Linked DNA regions of Homo sapiens: region 1 is linked to region 2. Evidence: promoter capture Hi-C in human tissues and cell types (Jung and others, 2019). All regions are on one chromosome and are shown on one strand. The core of a region is centred on a gene start or on the middle of the fragment in contact, and the rest is flanking DNA. Distances in the headings are between cores, read along the strand shown.

What was found. Contacts are between HindIII fragments. The study calls those that stand out against the background at their distance.
Region 1: a fragment that was not itself captured here is called in contact with the fragment with the promoter of WNK2 in region 2 in 1 of the 25 tissues and cell types used here (spleen).

What each region holds. Positions count from the first base shown.
Region 1 is chr9:94,183,521-94,186,220 of GRCh38, reverse strand. The region is part of intron 4 of MIRLET7A1HG (miRlet-7a-1/let-7f-1/let-7d cluster host gene); the gene reads right to left. The region is part of intron 2 of LINC02603 (long intergenic non-protein coding RNA 2603); the gene reads left to right. Among named protein-coding and RNA genes, the nearest start is that of MIRLET7D, 6.0 kb to the right of the region's middle. The HindIII fragment of the contact is 5,249 bases long and covers 1-2,700 here.
Region 2 is chr9:93,182,879-93,185,578 of GRCh38, reverse strand. WNK2 (WNK lysine deficient protein kinase 2) reads right to left here and starts at 1,440. Exons shown (of 30, transcript NM_006648.4): 1 at 1,194-1,440; 2 at 1-651. The coding sequence starts at 649. The HindIII fragment of the contact is 13,924 bases long and covers 1-2,700 here.

The DNA of each region.
Region 1 (2,700 bases), core at 179-2,678, 1.0 Mb before region 2:
CGCCTGTAATCCCAGCACTTTGAAAGGCCAAGGCAGGTGGATCACCTGAGGTCAGGAGTTTGACCTCAGCCTGGCCAACATGTGGAAACCCCGTTTCTACTAAAAACATAAAAATAGCCAGGCGTGGTGGCAAGCGCCTGTAATCCCACCTATTCCAGAGGCTGAGGCAGGAGAATGGCTTGAACCTGGAAAGTGGAGGCTGCAGTGAGCCAAAATCATGCCACCGCACTCCAGTCTGGGAGACAGAGTGAGACTCCATCTCAAAAACATAAAAAAAAAAAAAATTAAAATTAAAAAAAAAAAGGCCAGGTGCGGTGGCTCACGCCTGTAATCCCAGCACTTTGGGAGGCCGAGGTGGGCGTATCACCAGGTCAGGAGATCGAGACCATCCCTGCTAACATGGTGAAACCCTGCCTCTACTAAAAATACAAAAAAGTAGCTGGGCGTGGTGGCGGACGCCTGTAGTCCCAGCTACTCGGGAGGCTGAGGCAGAAGAATGGCGTGAACTCGGGTGGCAGAGCTTACAGTGAGCCGAGATAGCACCACTGCACTCCAGCCTGGGTGTGCAGAGCGAGACTCTGTCTAAAAAAAAAAAAAAAAAAAAAAAAAAAGAAGATAAAGAAGATTTGATATCTATACAAGAAAATACTACTCAGAAATATAAAGAAACAGTTGAGCTCAGGAGGTCGACACTGCAGTGAGTCAAGATCACAATGCTGCACTCCAGCCTGGAAAACAGAGTGAGAACCTATTTCAAAAATATATATATCACAACAAGAATGAACCTTAAAAACAGGCTAAATGAAAAAAGCCATATTCAAAGGTCTACATATTACATGATTCCTTTAGGGATTAAGTCACCATTTCCCCCAATCACAAAAGAAGGATGTATCAACAAGATATTATTATTATTATTATTTTTTGAGATGGAGTCTCACTCTGTCACCCAGGCTGGAGTGCAGTGGTATGATCTCGGCTTACTGCAAGCTCCGCCTCCCGGGTTCACACCATTCTCCTGCCTTAGCCTCCCGAGTAGCTGGGACCACAGGCACCCATCACCATGCCCGGCTAATTTGTTTTGTATTTTTAGTAGAGATGGGGTTTCACCATGTTAGCCAGGATGGTCTTGATCTCCTGACCTCGTGATCCGTCTGCCTCAGCCTCCCAAAGTGCTGGGATTACAGGCGTGAGCCACCGCGCCTGGCCAGATATTATTTTTAATGCAGTTTTCCAGTCACAGGATTATTTTTCCCAACTATTTAGGCATCTTCTGCTCTGCCATTCACCATACTCTGCCCTTCTTTCCCCTATACTGAAGTGCCCAAGATAATAAAATAATCATAAGACTACTTAGGGAAACTTATTTGCAATCTTGGGAGATATTAGACAAATGTATTATACCTGAAACCTTGTGCATCTTTTCAGATTTTCTCAACCACCTCATTTCTCATTTTGGTCAGTGACCCTCTACTGGGTCACTCCTCTGCTTTCAGACCTAGTTAAAACACCACACTTCAGGGTAGAGTATAAAAAGCTTCCTAAGTAGCTGCCAATGGGCTGGATGATACAACCTGAAAGCTTAGAGAAGTTAGTTCCCCATGAGGACCTATGACCAGTATTTCCAAGACTAATGAGAAGACAAAGACATAGAAGGGTGCTGGGCATATTTTAAGAAGGAAAGGGTACATACAGCATACACAGGGAGTTCTTACATTTCATGATACCATGCTAATACAAACTTGTTCATACTGGAGCCTTGTTCTTGCTTTGCATAGTTCTCTACCAGGCAAGGCAAAGCAAGGACATGGTTCTTATGTGCATGAATTACTGTAACAAGATGCCAGGCAATGCAAGGACTACACACACACACACACACACCACAGACACATACACGCACACACACTTGCATTTAAGAGCCTGTCATGTGAAATGTGCTCATATTCAGTACTCTGGACAATATACCTAGGTAGCTAAAATGAGATCTTGGGTTTAAGAAACTTAGGCTACGTTACTTAAGTGAGACAAGCTATACAGTTTTCTTTTAAACATCTGTTTCTATATCAGTATTTCATTGTAAATCATCAAAAAGTCTATAAATAATAAGTTCTGCATTAGGGTAACTGCAGAGGTTCAAAGTTTACAGTTGCCATTCAAGAGAGCAAAAATGTAACAAAAACTTTTGTTGCCGAGTATCTTGAGCCCCCATGTCTACTAATGGCAGAACACTGAAATTTCATCCATTTAAGAGAACTGTCTCGATTTAAAGCAGTTTTTAGGAGAGTTAGTTTATCAAATTCAAGAGGATCTAAATTTCCAAAGGGCTTAACTCATGTCAGCACTAAGAAGGGGTGTCCTTACTGTTTGGTCCATACTGTCTTGAGCTTGGTCCTTGCTGCCTGCCACTTGTAAGATCCCAGTTTCAGAAATGTGGTCTTGCCATCAGCCTCTTACCACTTCATGTTCATGCTCACGTTCAGGGTCCTGCTACAGATGTCAGAGATCCATTGTCTACCATCCTTATCTAAGCCATAGGCTTCTTCCTGATGGCCCCTTAGCACCTTTCCTCTTCCCTCACATTTAGGGGCTTTCCCTGGACTTCCCTATGTGGGATCCTGTGAGGAGAGCTTTTCCCTGCAAGTCTCATAACCCCCATTCACTATAAGGTAGTTCATTTTTCTCATATAATACAAAGTGTAGAGG
Region 2 (2,700 bases), core at 191-2,690:
TCTCCGTGTCCAGCCCCTTGTAGACCGTCTTGAAGGAACCGCGGCCCAGCTCGATGTCGAACTTGAGGAAGCGGCCGTCCAGAGAGGTGGCCACGGCCTTGAGGTCGTCCTCGTCGTCCTCCTCCTCTTCGGGCTCGTCCCGGCGAGTGCGCCCGGGCTCAGGCTTCGCCTCGGCCGCCCCCTCATCCTCCTTCCTCACGGTCGCCGCCGCCTCCTCCCTGGGGCCGCCGTCGGGGGCAGGCGCGGTTTCGACAGCGGCTGCGATGGGGTCCGGGCCGGGCTCCTGCGTGCCCACGGGCTCGGGGCCGGCGTCCGCGGGGGCTCCGGGGGCTCCCGGCTGCGCTACCAGCGCTGCGGGCGCGGGGGCGGCGGGGCGTCCGCGGGCGCGCTCCGCGATGAGGCGGCGCGTCTTGCAGAGCAGAAGCACCCGGCGCTGCAGGGGCTGCGGGGGCTGCGGGCCCGGCGCCTCGGCTGCCTCCAAGCCCGGCGGCTCCTCCTGGTCCGACTCTACCACGCTGCGCCGCAGAAAGCGCTGGGGCCCCGGCCGCGCCGCCTTCGCCCGAGGCTCCGCCATGCCCGCGGGCCCCGCGCCGCGCCCGGGCTCCATCAGCGTGCCGGGGACGTCTCGGCGGCCGCCATCGCCGTCCATCTCTGTGGGCCAAGGACACACAGGCCCGCGTGAGCGCCGGCCCTGCCGCACCTGCCCAGGCCGCCGGATGAGACAACGCCGCCCTAAGCCCGCAACCTGCCCAGCCCCGGCCGCGGAGAGAGCCTGCGGGGGCCGTCTCTGGGGGCCCTGGGAAAGGGGGGCTGCAGACGGGACCAGAGGCTTGGGTTGGGGAGGAGGGGTCCGTGCCCTGCTCAGCCCCAGGCTGCGGAGAGGGACGGGCCTGTGGTGTCCCTGGAACCCTGGGAGAGAGGACCTGCTAGGGTGTCCCTGAGGGCCCCGGAGGCCGGCAGAGGGATCTCGCGCCCTGCCCAGCCCTGGCCCAGGAGGGTTCTGCTAGGCTGTCCCGGAGGCAGCTGTAAAGGGGATAGGGAAGCCCGGGGGTGGGAGGAAGGCAGTGGCCCGGCGGCGGCTCCACAAAGGACGCGGGCCCGGGGCGCGGGAGGGGCGCGCGGGGAGGGGGCTGCAGCGCCGCGGCGCGCACACAAAGGCGGCGAGCGGCGTTGAGGGGAGGCTCGGCACTCACAGGGCGAGCGGACGCCGTCCATGCCCGCGGCCCGGCGGCCAGGGCGTGCGAGGCGGGAGAGATCACGCTTCGAGGACGGGGTCCGAGTTCCGGGCGAGGTCCGCGCTGGGGTGGGGGCCGTGGCGCCGCTCCAGCTCCTGCGCGCTGCTCTCTCGGGCCGGGCCACTGCGGGGCCGCGCTCCCGCGTGCTCCTGCCGGCTTCGCGCGGCTCCGCTCCCGCACCGGCTCCGACCCGGCGCGCGGGGAGGGCGGGGCTCCGTTCGCCCCGCCCCGGACCGGCGCAGGGGGCTGGGCCTGGCACGCCCACCTGGCTGCGGACGGGCTGGCTGACTGGCAGGCGCGCGCGGCCACCTGCGGGCCGGCTACCTGGGCTCCCACCCGCGGTTCTTTGCTCGAGGTAGCGCTCCTGTCCTCTGAAGTTCTTTGGAACGCCCCGCAGGGCTGTCAGCTGCGGAGGACCCCGTTTCTTCCTGAGAGGAGGCAGCAGGCTCAACGCCTCAGCACGCCGCAGCCCGGCGCGCTAGACCTCAAGGCCCTGTGCCAGGACAGAATGGGCAGGCTAGGAAGAAAAGGACCAGGGGTACCGCCGCCCTCGGGAGCCCAGCCTGGGGCTAAGCCTGGTGGGGCTCAGCGTGTCCTTTCCTGCCCTCACTTCACCACCAGGAACCATGAGGACCTCATCATCACCCAGGGAGGCACTGGTGATCATTATGCCCATTTCACAGTCTAGAGCAAACTGAGGCGCCAAAGGCAGAAGTTATATGCTCTAAATCCCAGAACTTTCAAGACCGAAGCTGAGCTGGAATGCCTTGGATGGGATATGGAGAGGCTTCCAGAAGCCCCTTGACCCAAAGTGTTCTTCCTTCCCACCTCTGCCAGATGCCACCTCTCCCGAGAAGTCTTCCATGATCTCTAGCTCCTTCCTCCTCTAGACCCCCACGGACAAGCCCTCTCTTGGGCGTCTCTGGCCCTAATGCAGCAGGTGACCTGTGTCAGTAACCATACTGCTAAGTTCTGAGCCCTGCTCCAGGCAATGCCCTGAGCTAACACTTCACCCTTACCCCAGCCTCCATGATCCTAGGTGAGGAAACTGAGGCACAAGGGAGATACCAGAGTATTCTCATCTCAGTCCCCATCCCACTGGGCTGGCACCCCCATCAGATACACACACACTTCCAGAGATGAAAAGATGCTTGTGGGCCTGTAGGCCTTGGAGCCCCTGGCACAAAATAACTCATGTGGCATAAAAGCCAGCAGAGGCGATATCTCACCTTCACAATGTAGAGGGAAGAATATGCCAGGCCAACTGTTACCCAGAGAAGCAGGACTTCCTGGAGCCCCGCTGGGCACTGGCACTGGCTGAAACTAATTTGTGAGGGGCAACAGTGAACATCCCTTCCCAGCTCTGGGTTCAGCAATGCCACCCTGTAGCCTGAAGTCAGCAATGCTGGGAGTATTTACACTGCGGAAATTGGCAAACACCTCAAATCAGGACTTTTCTCCCCAG